2 separate regions of the Homo sapiens genome follow, and region 1 is linked to region 2. Evidence: promoter capture Hi-C in human tissues and cell types (Jung and others, 2019). All regions are on one chromosome and are shown on one strand. Each heading gives the region's core, a stretch centred on a gene start or on the middle of the fragment in contact. The rest is flanking DNA. Distances are from core to core; before and after follow the strand shown. Region 1 holds the start of SLC22A12 (solute carrier family 22 member 12). Region 2 holds the start of NRXN2 (neurexin 2).

Region 1 (7,606 bases), core at 633-3,132, 130 kb after region 2:
AACCCCCAGAGTAAAGTTGGTGAACTCGAGGTTCAGAGAAGGTTCCAGACCTCCCTACCTGGCACGGCTGCAGGGTGGCTGGTCCGAGACCCACACCCAGCAAGTAGGGCGCTTTCTAGACTTGGTTTTGTGAGGCTGGTTTGGGGCCAGTCGGCCAGGGTCCTAGGAGAGCAGGGGTTGTGAGGGGAACTGGGACCTGCCTGGACTGGGGGTACTCACCTGTCTGAGGCAGGGCCGCACGCAGCAGCTCCCACCAGAATCCCAGCCAGGTAGATGGACTGGGCCATGGGCTTCAGAGCATGAGAGTCACACACGAGGTTCCACTGATGGGAGAGGAGGAGGCTGAGCTCAGGAGGTTGGGAGAGCCCCAGCAGAGAGGCAGAGGAACCGCATGGGAGGGCCCCCAGGGAGCTGGGTGCGGTGGGTGGTCTGGTGACCTCTAGGGTTTTAGAGCAAGACCCTGTGGAACAGTGAGGGCACCCACAGGCATAGTTTGGCCTTTTGAGGAGTATATCCTGCCACCCTCTGCCTGAACTCTTCCATGGCTCCCTATTGCCCAATGGGTCTCTAGCCACATCTGCCCCTCTCTCCTGTCTCTCCACTTGGAAGCAGCCACCCAAGCTGACACCCTCACCCCTCTCCCAGAGGTTGCTTCCCTCCTGTTCTTTATAAAGAGGTTCTTCCCACTTGTTGGGATGAGCTGCCCCTCTCTGCTTGCCTGGCTTTGCCTGGCGCCCCATCTGGGAGGCAGCCTGGGGTAATCCCTTACTCTGTGTGCTTTGGTCTCGGGGAATCCAGTGAATTGTCACTGAGTCCCCCTGCTGCTGAGTTGCCTGGAGTCACGGCTGACAGGTCAGCAGGGCCAGGACAGGGTGAGGCCGGTGAGTGTCCAGGTGCCAGCATTTAGAGGTGCCCGCCCAGGTGCCCCCCGCACCTCCAAGAGCCTGGGCTGGCCCCATTTGTAGACTGATCCCTGCCGCCCACTTCCCTGTGTGTGGCTGACGAGGGGCTGAGAGGCTCGAGAGTGAGTGGGGCCTGGGGAGGTGGGTCCCTCCCAGGACTGGACCTTTGAGTCTGACCCACCGTGATCCATGACTGACCTCCAAGGTGGTGGGACTCGAGTGGCTCTGGGGGAGGCCCTACCTTGGCCACGATTGTGGAGGTGAAGATGCTGCGGTCATAGACCCAGCCATCCACACACGGCTCCGTGTCGGCCTCGCTCCAGCTGGTGGCCGTGGCATTGGGGTCCAAGAGCTGCCACTGTGGCTGGCGGAAGCGGCGGCACTGGTGGGGCCTCTGGTTGGGGCCCGGCGGGATGGAAATAGCCAGGAGGGCCTCAGGACTCAAGCTCCCTAGGATGCTGGCCTGAGCCGTGCTGTTGTCCAGGAGGGGTGCCCAGCAGCGGTGGCTGGGCACGGCGGCCGAGAAGTTCTCCAGCATGCTCTGGGTACACAGCCACATGATGGAGACCATCAGAGCCATCGTCTGGAGAACCTGGAACCTGCCCAGGCCACCCACGAGGTCCAGGAGTTCAGAAAATGCCATGGAACCTACTCAAGGGGCCCAGAAGAGGGGCCCACTTCACAAAGGCTGGCCCAGGGCAAAGAGGCCAGGGCAACGGGCCTGTTTCCCCCACGGTGGTGCCCACAGTGGCTTCTCCAGCCCAGCGGCTAGGCTTCACAGACTCGGGGCCGGAGGCTCAGGCTCTCTGGTCATCTGCCTGCTGGTGTCACTTGGGGTGGCTCCAACTGGGCCCTGAGGCCGCGTGAGGTGATTCCGAGACCTCCAGCATCTCCCCAGAGAGGCAGCTGCTCCAGACCTCCCGGGAAAGCTGAATTTGGAAAGTAGGGAATGTGGAGACTGAAGACTTTAATTTTAGACTGGAATTAAAGTGTGACCGGTGACACTTATGGAATCGAGTTTAGCAATCATTTCCTTGGTCAAAGTTTAACCCGCGTTGAGGCAGGCACAGACGCGAGGGAGGTGCAGCCTCCTCTGCTTGGGGGCCAGGGCCGGCCTGCTCTGTGCCAGGTCTTGGGGAGGCCTAAGTTTTTCTCCTGGCGGCTGTGGGATGCCAGGGCTGCCTGCTCCCTTCGGTGCCCCTGTGTGCCCACCTCCCAGAGTGGCTGAGCCAAGAGAAGGTGGGCCAGGGGATCCCCCTAATTTGGGGCTGGGGCAGCTGTGCAAGTCTCTGTGTGGGCTTGGGTCACTGGCAGCTGCCCAGCCCCTGCGCCTCCCAGGCTGTGTGGCCTGGCCCCACCCGTGGCTCCTGCCTCCACTCACCTGCTGTGGTTGGCGTCCTGTGCCCGCTTTGCTGTTACCCTGTCCTGAGTCCTCGGTGGAGCTTCCCAGCATCAACAGACACCCCACAGACTCCCCAGGTTCGGTGTGCCCAATGCCACCCTGAGATCTCTGTCCCCTCCCCAAATCTATGCCTCCTGCAGAGCCCCACCTCAGCTATGGCCTCTCATGTCACAGTGTCTGGCCTGGAACCCAGCGTCTTGGTTCACGCCTCCTGCTCCCTGCCTCCCAAATCCACCAGGGGCCAAGCCTGGCTAGTTTTGCCTCCTAAGGATTTCTCTCTCCCACCTCCCCCACTCCACAGCTGTCCCTGCCCTTGTCTTTCTGCCTCAACTCCTGCCCCTGGACCCACCACGCACTGCGAGCCCTTGGGTCAAATCCTGCTTAAAAGCCAAGGGGCTCCCAGTCAACAACAGCTAGTGGTGACTTACTAGGGCAGGTGAGTGGACAGCAGTGTGTGCTGATGCAGGGTGTGGGGTTCAGGAAAGGCTGGACCGAGGCCAAGAGAACCCCCTTGGTCTCGATAGCTAATTCTGTAGGCGAAAGGGCCAGAGAACACAAAGCAGTTAAAAAGTGTGTGTGCATGGCCGGGCGTGGTGGCTCATGCCTGTAATCCCAGCACTTTGGGAGGCCGAGGTGGGGGGATCACTTGAGGTCAAGAGTTCAAGACCAGCTTGGCCAACATGGCAAAAACCCATCTCTACTAAAAATACAAAAGTTAGCTGAGCATGGTCGTGGTGCACAGCTGTAATTCCAGCTACTTGGGAGGCTGAGGCAGGAGAATCTCTTGAACCCAGGAGGCAGAGGTTGCAGCAAGCTGAGATTGCACCACTGCCCTCCAGCCTGGTTGACAGAGAAAGACTCTTATCTCAAAAAAAAAAAAAAAAAGAAAAGAAAAAAAAGAAGTGTATGTATATGTGGGTGTGTGCACATGTCTGTGTATGTGTGCACATGTGTTTGCACAAGTGCATGTGTGTACATGTGTGCATGCGTATATGTGCAGTGCAGCAGTGATGGCAACCCAGGTGTTTGCTCTTATGAGCTTTGGGCATAAAACTCTCCATTTGAGGCATAAATGCCCCTCCCATCTGCTTCTTTTTGCTTCACCGACTCTTCCCGCTGCCCCTCCACATGGCTTACCAAGCCAACTTCTTTGCCTCCCTGGGCTCTGCACCTTGAGTCATCCACTGCTTCCACCACATGCCCTGTACATGCTTTCTCAGTTCCCACCCTTGCTTATGTTGGACCTCCAGCCTGGAATGCTGTCTCCAGGCTCACCCTTAGGCCACATACTGTGTGGAATGGGCACAGTCCAAATACTCCTCCTCCAGCGGGCTCTCTTCACTTATTCCTGCCTACAACTAGGGCTCAGAGTTGTCAGTGGAATCTCATCTTTACACTGTCCTGCATTCTTCTCAAACTCCTGACCTCAGGTGATCTGCCTGCCTTGGCCTCCCAAAGTGGTGTGAGTTGCGGCACCCAGCCATGACCTGCATTCTTCTATTATGGTCCAGTTGGTCTTATTTCCAGTGAGCTCCTGGTAGTCTGGAACCCTTCTTTAGAGGCTCTTTGGAACTGATTTGGACAACAAATAAAGGTTCCATGGAGACTTGCTGAAGTGCATGGATGATTTTTTTAAAAATTTCATTTATTTTCTAATTATGAAATAATTTACACACTTCCTCAAAAATTCAGAACATATTGAAATGAAAATAAAGATCCCTCATATACTCATCAACCAGTGAGTTACACTACTGTTTACAGTTTGGTGTAAATATGTGCAGACTTTGTTTTAGTAACTGATATGTTTAGCTTCATCAGCTTGAGCTGCCAAATAAGCTTTACATTTCCTTTTGTAAAATCCAAAAGAAATACCTCTGCCTTTTAATTAGCGATTTTAACCTGTTCACATTTATTGTAATTATTGACATGTTTGGACTTACTGTATGTTTTCTTGTTTACCACATTTTCCCTTTAAATCTTGGTTTCCTTGTTCCTAATTTCTACTGAATCCATTAAGTTTTCTTGTTATATTCTTCTACTGTCTTGGTCTGTCAGTTGTACGTTTTATTTCTGTTACCCTTATATTTGAACACACAAACCAGGGGTTATTTGATACCATCTTCTCTCTTCAAACCTACCACCTTCTCTTCTATCCTCTCTCTCAATAGATGACCTTTTTTCTTATTTCACTAAAACAATAGAAGCCATCAGAAGCCAACAGTCTAATTCTCTCACCAGCTCACCTGCCTTGGTGCCCCCACATTCTGCCTTCCTTCCACCCAGTTTGGTTTCTCTCTCATCCATGCCAACCCCTCACTGTGTGCCTAGAGCCCACCCCCCTTTGCCTGCTCACATCTCTCTTTGGCATTTGTCTTTCCCTCGCTACTGGATAATTTCCACCAATGTACAAATATGCCATTTTTTTCTGTAGCCTTCCAAAAACTCCCCCTCCATTTGAGCCCCTCTTTCTTCTTAAGCGACTGCCCCACCTTTGCTTGTATTTACAACAAAATTCTATGAAAGTATTATTGACACTCATTTCCAGTTTCTGTCTTCCCATTTTTTTGTTTGTTTTTGGATTCATTCCCATCAAGGTTTTGCCCCTATCACTCTGCTGTCACCAATGACCTCCATGCTGCTAGATTCAATGACATTTTCAGTCCTCATCTTACTTGAGCCATCTGTCTCTGATCTCCATCTGAGAATACTTTCTTCCCTGGGCCTCCAGGACTCACTAGTTCTCAATCTTCTTGGTTGGGTTTTCCTCTTCTCCACACACTGTTAACATTGGAGGCCACTGAGCTCACTCCTTGGTCTTCTCTATATTCTCTATCATCTGGTCCATTCACATCTTTAGCCTGTACCTCTTCTTGGAATGCTAGATTTTGATCCAACTGCCTAATCTTAGGTGCTTAATAAACATCTCACACTTAGTGTGGCCAAAGCTGAGCTCTCCCAAAAAAATGCTTCTCATGCAGCTTTCTCCACTTTTTTTTTTTTAAGTTGAGTCAGAGTCTTGCTCTGTTGCCCAGGCTGGAGTGCAGTGGCGCCATCTTGGCCCATTGCAGTCTCCACTGCCCAGGTTCAAGCAATTCTCATGCCTCAGCCTCCTAAGTAGCTGGGTCTATAGGCATGTGCCACCATGCCCAGCTAATTTTTGTATTTTTAATATCGATGGGGTTTCACCATGTTGGCCAGGCTGGTCTCGAACTCCTGGCCTCAACTGATCTGCCCACCTCGGCCTCCCAAAGTACTGGGATTATAGGCATGAGCCACTGCACCCAGCCCCAAATCACCAGCATTTTAATTTCAGAATGTGTAATTTCCATTTCAGAATCCGTGTTTGGTTCTTCCTATAACTGCTTCTTCTTGTTTCCTAGTTTCCACTTCTTGTTTCATAGGTGGAATAATTTCCTTGATCTCTTAGTGGATATTACGAGTGTTTCTCTTGGGCCAGGCGTGGTGGCTCACGGCCGGAATCCCAGCACTTTGGGAGGCCGAGGCGAGTGGATCACTTGAGGTCAGGAGTTTGAGACCAGCCTGGCCAACATGGGGAAACCCTGCCTCTAGTAAAAATACAAAAATTAGCCAGAGGTGGTGGCACACACCTGTAATCCCAGCTACCAGGGTTGCTGAGGCAGGAGAATTGCTTGAATCCATGAGGCGGAGGTTGCAGTGGAGCCAAGATCACGCCACTGCACTCCAGCCTGGGTGACAGAGCAAGATTCTGTCTCAAAAAAAAAAAAAAAAAAAAAAGAAGAGTGTCTTTCTTCTTAATATCAATATTCATTTGTTGAGCTGAGTGTTGATAATGCACCAGCCACTGCTCTAGGCACAGGGATGCAGCGGTGAACAAACAAGATAATTCCCTGTTCTCATTGATATGTAGAAAGACATGCCAATGAGAGAGGAGAAACACATCAAGAAATAAATGAATATAGTGACAAGTAGTAATCATGCTGTGGAGAGAACAAGATAGCATAAGGGGCAGAGAGTAAGGATCATGTTGCCACTTTGGGTGGGGCAGTCAGGGAAGACTTCTCTGTGGAGGTGGCATTGAAAGAGACCCAAGTAGATGAGGGGACAAGACACACAGTTGACTGGGGAAAGAATATTGCAGGCAGAGGGAAGAGTATTATGCAAAGACCCTGGGGTGGGCATGTGATTTTATGCTCAAGAAGTAGGAAGGAGGCCAGTATGGTTGGGGAGAAGTGAGTGGGAAAAGTAGAGCAGTTTTGGGGCCAAAACATACACTTCCTTATAGGGTTTTGAGGAGAGAAGTGGCATGATCTGACTAATGTTTTTACAAATCTCCCTGGCTGCTGTGTGGAGAACAGACTGAAAATGGGACAAATATAGAAGAAGGGGTTCCCCCAGGAGGCTGTTGGGGTGGATCATGTGAGCAATGAGGGTCAGGGCTAGGGGATTAGGGCAGGTGGAGAGAAATGCTTGGGTTTGGGGCATATTGCTTTTCTTTGACTAAATACAGGGCCGAGGGTGAAGAAAAAGGATAAACTGATGATCAGGTGGGTGGTGGGTGGATGGTGGGCCATTTACAGAGAAGCAGAACACTCGGGGAGAAGCAAGTTTGATGGGAAAATAAATCTTTTTTTGTGTGATGATATTGACATGTCTATTAGCCATCCAGGTGGTGGCATCATGGAGCGACTTGGGAATAATTAGGGGATAAAAGGCATTTTAAGTCACAGGACTGGATAAGCTCACGTAGGGTGCAAGCTTTCATAGCAAAGAGATGACGTTTGTGATGGAGCCTTTGGTCTCTGATGTTGAGAGGTCAGTAAGAGGATGACCCAGCAAAAGAGCTGTGAAGGCAAAACCAGTGAGGCCTGGAAACCAGGACAGCAGGATGCCCCGGAAGCCAGAGTGAAAAGTATCTGACAGAGTCAATCAGCAATGTCACATCCTTGGCCGGGCGCGGTGGCTCACGCCTGTAATCCCAGCACTTTGGGAGGCTGAGGCAGGTGAATCACCTGAGGTCAGAAGTTCGAGACCAGCCTGGCCAACATGGTGAAACCCTGTCTCTACTAAAAATACAAAAAATTAGCCAGGCATGGTGGCACATGCCTGTAATCCCAGCTACTCAGGAGGCTGAGGCAGGAGAATTTCTTGGACCTGGGAGGCAGACGTTGTGGTGAGCCGAGATCACGTCATTGCACTCCAGCCTGGGCAACAAGAGTGAAACTCCATCTCAAAAACAAGGAAACAAAAAAGTCTCATCCTGCTGAGAGGTGGGGTGGGATAAGGTCTAGAATTAGCCCCTGGATTTGGCAGCATGGACTTC
Region 2 (7,044 bases), core at 3,088-5,587:
CTCAAAAAAAAAAAAAAAAAAAAAAAATTGGGCTGTGAGGTCATGCAGGGAATTGATTTTTGGTGGGTGGGTCTGCTTCTGGGATGATGTGGATGCCTCCCGTGGAGAGGGGAAGGGTTGATGAAGTCCCAGGGACCTGGAAGTGTGTTCTGCAGCAATCCCCCTCCCAGCAGAGATCCGTGAGGAGGAGGTACAGACGGTGGAGGATGGGGTGTTTGACATCCACTTGTAATAGATGGTGAGTCCTCCCACAGCTGGCACCAGAGCTCCCCACTGAGGGCTGGGGGGGAGCTGGGGAGTATCAGGGAAATGGGTGCTTTATCCAAATGGCTCCAAGCCAGGTGGGCTACTACCTTGTTGTTAGGGGGGTGTCTTCCTCACAACCTGTTTTTCTCTTCCCAGCTGTGGTTGGATCAAGGACTCATTCCTGCCTTGGAGAAAATACTTCAACCAGAGCAGGGAGCCTGGGGGTGTCGGGGCAGGAGGCTGGGGATGGGGGTGGGATATGAGGGTGGCATGCAGCTGAGGGCAGGGCCAGGGCTGGTGTCCCTAAGGTTGTACAGACTCTTGTGAATATTTGTATTTTCCAGATGGAATAAAAAGGCCCGTGTAATTAACCTTCACCATCAGCGCCTAGAATCCCGGGGGGTAGGGGGATGGTATACTTTACAGGATGACAATCTTGGGAGCTAGAACTTTGTAGCCAGAGAAACTTGGGAGGTCTGGAATCTCATGTGTCTGGAGTCTTGGGGAAGAGAATCTTAGAAGCAGAAAACCTTGGAACATAAGAATCTTGGGGAGGGTCTAGGATCTTGAGGAGACCAGATCCTTGGACATCTAAAACTTGAAACTAGTAGGTCTGCACCCGAGAATTGCAGGGCCAGTCATGCATACCCAAAGCCTTCAGCCCATGGCCGAAATTCCCTTGCTGGACAGGGGGCCTTTCAGCCCCTGCTTGGACGCTTCCAGTAACAGGGCCCTCACTGCAGGAATCGTGGGAGGGAGAGGGGCAGCACAGAGTTGCTGGCTGTCGGGGAAGGGAGGGAGGGCCCTGGGCAGTCCGAGGGCCCTGCTGGGCTTGTGCCTCAGGGTGGGGGCTGCACTCCTCCGCCTTGCAGCCTCCTGGCCTGGTGCTGCTGCCAGCCGGAAGGACAGTGACTTCCAGAGGAAATGCATATTGATCCTGCTTTCAGCCTCCGGTGGTGGCTTCTCCCAACCCAGCTCTTCCCTCCTGAGCCTGCAGCACGGAGGTTTTGGGGGTCACTGCTACCTAAAGAAGGCTAAGGCCACTTCTGAGGCTGGTCTGGGAGTTTACTAAAGGTTCTGAAGCTGGGCCGGGCTGCCCCTGGGATCAGGAGACTCCAGACAGCAGTCCTGACAATGGGAACTACCTCCTCAGTCCCCCAAACTGGGAGGTGTCCCACAGCAGCTGTAGGATTGTCCTAGGGGTGGAGACCTGAGCACCTTCCACTCCAAAGCACAGTATCTGTGGGCCTGGCAGTGGCCTCAGTTCCCCCATGAGTGCCCCGGTCCCCCACCCCAGGGTTTCCCCACATCACATCCATCCCTGCTTTGAGACCCCACTCCCCCTGGCCTGTTCTTTATTTTGGGTCACTCCCTTCTCTTTCCTGGTCATATCTCTCCTGCAGGCCTACCCTGTGTTGGGCCCCCCAGCCCTGTCTCTGCATCGGGTGCCCCCCTGCCCCTCCTTCTGTCCTCAGCCCCCTCCGCCCTTCCCCCTCTTGAGGCTGTAATATCCGTTTCACGATTTGGGGGCTGAGTTGCTATAACAACAGACGGCGATTGTGTTGTGAAGAGCAGCTCGCTCCTGTGCCGCCTGCCTCCTGTGCTGCCTCCATCCCTGCAGCCCAGTCGGTTCCTCTTGGCTCCTCTCGTCACTACCCTCCAGTTCCAGTCTGGCCTCTTCCTGGTGTGTGTGTGTGTGTGTGTGTGTGTGTGTGTGTGTGTGTGTATGCATGCATGCATATGTGTGTCCAGGTCTGCCTGCCCGGGATGTGACAAGTAGCGGTCTTCATGGTTGCATGTGTCTGAATTTGGTGTCTGAGCTTCACATTGTATGCGCCTGTGTGCATGTGTGTGCATGGACATGCATGCTGTATCTGCTGTGTTTCCCCTCCCCCATGTGTCCCCACTGGCCTTTGCACATGGGAGAAGGGCATGTGCTCAGCATATCACTCAACTGTCCACATTGGGTGGGTACCTGTGTGTGGTGTGTGTGTGTGTGGGGTGTGTCTTGAAGTGGCAGGTCCCAAATGCTTAGGCAATCTGAACCTTGGACCTTGCAGAGAGGAGAGATGTCCCTGTAGGTGGGAGGGACAGGGAGATGCAGCAGCTGCCCGGTGACCTTTTCTGCCCTTGATGGGCAAAGCTGGGGGTAGGGAAAGGAGACAAGTGCTCATACTTACCTCCCTCCCTGCCCAGGCTCCTCTGTAAGGGTCTGAGTCTGTCTCTGTGAGCCATTGCATCTGTCTGTCTATGCCCTGATGCCTGGATGGACAAGGGGTGTGTGTGTGTGTGTGTGTGTGTGTGAGTGTGAGGAGGCTGCAGGAAGAGGAACAGTGGGGGATGGGCAGGAAAGTGGGCTGTGGGGTCAGGGAGGCGATTTCGCATTCATAGGCCCTGACGCAGCAGTTCCATTCTCTGGCTCCTTCATTGGCTTTGGTGGGGATGCCCTGGGGGTCTCTCCAAGGTCAGAGTGGGCCCTAAGTCTGGGACCTGGCTTAGGGATCACCCTTCTCGACTCCTAGGAAAAACTCCTTGCAGCCTGGGTCCCCCTCTTACCCCTTCACAGGCTGGGGAAGGAGTTTCCCACCCGGGGGGTTGGTGTCCGCATTAAGCCACTCAGTAATTGACCACTCTCTTTGAAGTGCCTGGGCAGGGGTCCAGGATGACTGTGGGCAGGTCCCCTGGGTGCAGCTGTTCTGGGCATGCATTAATTGCCTGGTGTAGGTACCTGTGTGCACAAGTGTGTGTGTTCTTGGGCAGTATATGCTTCCTGTGGGTGTGTTACCATGGTGGGGCATTTCTGCAGGTGTTCTTATGTGTCTCTGGGAATGCCCAGTGTTCACAGATATGTGTGCATGGCTGTGAGTGCCCCAATGTCCATGCATTGGTGGTTGAATGTAAGTGTTCTTGCATGTTGCCTCTGGCTAAGGAAGTGCCAACTACCACCAGCTGTGCAGATCACAGACCCTGCAACAGAAACCAGGGTCCTGGAGTGAGCTGGCAGAATGGTCTGGCACACATACACACACACACTCTGTCTCTCACTGTCTCATTCAGCAGCCCAGTGACCAACCTCGGGGTATACACACTAAGTGCCAGTGTGTGTACACTTTTATTGGCGGAGTGAGTGAAGGGTGTCCCCCAGTCCCCCACACTCATACACATGCACAGTGATGCATGTACCCTTACAGGAGAGACCTGCGCCCCCCAGCACCACTCTAACTGAAACTCATGGATGGGAGGAGGAGAACAGAGAAGGGGGCTGCTGCCAGGTGCCCTCAGTCACCAGGCATGTGCAGGCGCAACCCTGCCCCCACACCTACTCGTACCTCGGTCCAGGGTTCCAGGCAGAACTGAGAGTTTGGCCTCAAACTCTGGGATTCCCATGAGGCAGGACTGGGAAACCCCCAAGTTCCTAGGTCTACCCCGCCCCCATCTCTGCCTTTCCTTCCCCCACCGCCTCCGTCTTTATCCCAGCAAAGCCCCTTCCTCTTCAGTTCTGGGGGCTCCAAGCCAGGGGCCCTCCGGACGGTGGGAGGTGGGGGCCAGGCTACCGACTGGAAAAAGCCCCCAGCAGCCATGGACCCACCGAGTCCCCCTTCTCTAGGCTCCTCGAAGCCCGGGCCCGCCCCTGGGGGTAGCCAGCAGAGGGCGCTGCGGCCCAGGCCCCGCATCAGCCCTGCTCTCGCGGCGTCCCAAGTCGGGGTCCACAGCCTCTCCTTCGGCTTGTCCCAGCCCCGCGCTGCGCGAAGACCTGCTGGCCGTGGGGGGAGGGTGCGGGACCCAAGGCCCCGAACTAAGGGGCGAGGGGCGAGGGGCGAGAGTGCTTGGGTTCCCGGAAAAGACACTGAGGCCGGGTTTGGGGCCCGCCTGGTTGGGGGCCCGGGCGCCCGAGAACCTCGAGAGGCTGGGAGGAGCGCGGGTGCTGGGGCCGGGACGCCTGGGTCCCGCGCGAGGGAGGGAGTGGGCCTGTGGAGCCGCTGGACTGGCGGCTTCTGAGCCCTTGCATTGGCTGCGCTGCTCGCCCGTCAGCGCAGCGTGGTCCAATGCGCGCGTCTCGGGGGCGGGCACTGGTGCTGATGCTGCCGTCAGTCGGTGTTGCAGGGATGCGGCGGCGGGAGCAGCCGCCCTGACTCGCGGAGCATCCTCCTCGGAGAGGCACCGCGGCGGGGCGGGCGGGCGGGCGGGGACGCGGCGGGGAGGGAGAGAGGCGCGAGGCGGCAGACACCGCTAGCCCTGGCTCTGCCACCCGTCGGAGACGGGGCGGCCCTGTAGCTCTGCTACCCACCCTCCAGCTTCTGGCGCCCCGAGAACCAGGTAAAATGGGGGGGGGGGGGCGCTGCGGCGGAGACGGGCGGGGGGCGGGAGCCGATCGGGGGAGGGGAGCGGATCGGAGGGGGCGAGGGAGGCAGGACGGATGAATTGGGGGGCGGGGGCGCCGCGCTGAGAGGGCTGGCCCGGTGACAGCGAGGAGGCAAAGCCGCTGGGGGCTTGGGGGTCGGAGGCTCCTGTGGAAGGGGCACTGGCCCTGAGAGCTGAGGAGAATGGGGAGGGGTGGGAGGAAGGGTCTTTGGGGGAAGGGATGGAGAGAGGAGGGGCATCCAGAGGACTTAGAGGGGGTTCTTAAAGGGGGGTCCCCAGTCTGTGCTAGCCCCAGAGGCTTGAAGCAGCGCCGGGCCAGAGGAGCTGTTGTGTTCTGGAGGGTCTAACCAGCGAGAAACTGGGCTTCGTGGGAGGAGAGGAGAGGGGGCTGGAGAAGAGAGAGAAGTGGAGAGGGAAGGAAAGGGGCCAGGCCAAGGGCTTCGTCCTGAGGGGACCCACTGAGGACCAGGCTTTCCTGGGGGATGGGAGCCAAGGGGAGAAGAGGTTATTGGGAGAGAGCAGAGGGGAATGTGCCAAGGTGCTCCAGGCAGAGATGGGTCTGTGCTGGTGGAGAGCTGGGAAAGATGGGGTCTGAGGGAGAGGAGCGGAAGCTTGCGGGGGAAGGCTGGGGGTGATGAGACAGGGAGACTGGGAAATCAGTAGGAGGGGGCTTTGCTGGGGTGGGAATGCGCTGGGGGCGGTGACAGGGTTCTGGTCAGAGAGTGCTGCAGGGGGAGAGGAAGCTGCAGGGCCCTTGGCTTGCTCCCCCACCCCTAAAGAGGAAGGGACCATTTCTCATGTCCCAGCCTCCTCCCCCAGCTGAAGCAGCAATCTTCCCTGGGGTCTTTGGGTTGGGGTATGAGCCCTTGAACCCTTGATGGGCTTTTGGGGCACAATTGGCTTTGGGGTGCTGTTGTCTCCTTTACTCTCACCCCCCTCCTGAATCTTGGGAGAGGGCATTCGATGCCTCATTGAGCTAGCAAGGGCTGGGAGGGGCTTTTTCTTGGTGTCTGGAGGTGAAGGAGGAGGCTGTCCACCTGGAATAATGAAATAGATTTTTAGGGGGTGGGTCTTGGGTCCCCAGTCCCTTGGCTGCCCTGGGGGCTTCCAGATAGCCCTGTTTTTTCATGTGTTGGCGGGTGGGCGTCTCTCCTCTTCCATTCATTCTTATCCTTCCCTGTTGTCTACCTTCCCAGTGTCTGGGTGTTCCTTTTGGAGGAGGGTGGACATTAGGGTCTTACTTTCTCTGTCTTCTGCCAGAGAAGGAGAAAGAAAGAAGGGAGAGGGAAGGAGAAGGGGAGGGAGGTCTGCAGTCTGCTAACTGTGAGGCCTTCTGTTTTGTGGGTGCTTCAGCCCCTCAGTCCCTACCTCCTCTTGCTTCCAGGGATGGCTCTAGGGATGCTGGCATCTGAGGTGTGGCTGGATCTTTTGGGAGACAGGGGAGAAGGGTCTGGCTGGGGGCTCTTCATTCATGCTAGAGGAAGTGTTCTCAGACCCATCCTATCCTCAGATCCACAGGGGTGGGCGGGATGGACCAACCAGCCACGGCTGCCGGGCAGTTCTTTCCAGCCCAGGCCTGGGCTGAATCCATATGACATTGGAGTTCTGAGAGGAGGGGCTGGGTGCGCGAGTGGCTGGTGGGGACCCCTCTTTCCTTCCAGGCTCAGTCACTACCCAGGTCCAGCTGCTCCCTCCCGCTTACCCTTGCCAGTGACACAGACACTCTGACAATGATACACGCGCTCGGTGGCACCCACCCAGACACACACCTACACAGGCACACACACCTGCGTACACAATACACCTCCTGGCAGCATACAGCCCACACTCCCCACCCAGAGAGGCTGCCACCTCATGCCTGCCTCCTTGAGACCTCCCCCAGGTGCCTTGCTGCCATGTACACAACACACACACGGCCACTACGTGCCCCCAGAGCCCCCAGCGCAGCACTGCCAGCCCTCACCCTTGGATGCACACAGCCCCCATCCAACCACTCACCTCCCCAGGCTCACAGCCATCGCAGGCACACCTGTGCTTCTTCCTCATACACCTTCAGTCCTTGCAACACACCCTCTCCTTCCAGACACCCCATCCCTCCCAGGTCTACACAGCATGTGGGCACACCCTCCCAGACACACCAGTCCCTGCCCCCCAGCAAGCTCATCCTGAAGTACCATGTGCATGTCTGTCTGGGTGCTGAACACCTTGCCCCAGGCCTTTGTGTGTGTGCACGTGTGTGTGCACACCAGCACATGTTTGCTAACACACTTAATGCTGTGGCTCACCCCCTAAACCTCTCTTCTACTTTCTCTCTCTCTCACTCACTTATCTTTGTACCTTCGGCGCAGGGCCTCCTACCCCTCCTGGCCACAACCACGACCCTTCCCAGTGGAGTCCAGCCCCCACCTACACCTGGTTTCCCTGGGAGCCTTCCCA

Evidence for each region. The method cuts DNA at HindIII sites, captures the fragments that hold promoters and counts their contacts. A contact is called where the count stands out against the background at its distance.
Region 1: the fragment with the promoter of SLC22A12 here is called in contact with the fragment with the promoter of NRXN2 in region 2 in 5 of the 25 tissues and cell types used here (IMR-90 fibroblasts, dorsolateral prefrontal cortex, lymphoblastoid cells and 2 more).

What each region holds. Positions count from the first base shown.
Region 1 is chr11:64,585,496-64,593,101 of GRCh38, reverse strand. SLC22A12 (solute carrier family 22 member 12) reads right to left here and starts at 1,882. Exons shown (of 10, transcript NM_144585.4): 1 at 1,144-1,882; 2 at 220-323. The coding sequence starts at 1,545. The HindIII fragment of the contact is 41,401 bases long and covers 1-5,591 here.
Region 2 is chr11:64,720,490-64,727,533 of GRCh38, reverse strand. It overlaps NRXN2 (neurexin 2), which reads left to right and starts at 4,337. Exons shown (of 23, transcript NM_015080.4): 1 at 4,337-4,563. RASGRP2 (RAS guanyl releasing protein 2) reads left to right here. Exons shown (of 17, transcript NM_001098671.2): 16 at 174-238; 17 at 403-623. The coding sequence ends at 232. RefSeq lists enhancers at 1,399-2,237, 3,447-3,496 and silencers at 3,877-4,176, 4,163-4,457. The HindIII fragment of the contact is 11,757 bases long and covers 1-6,520 here.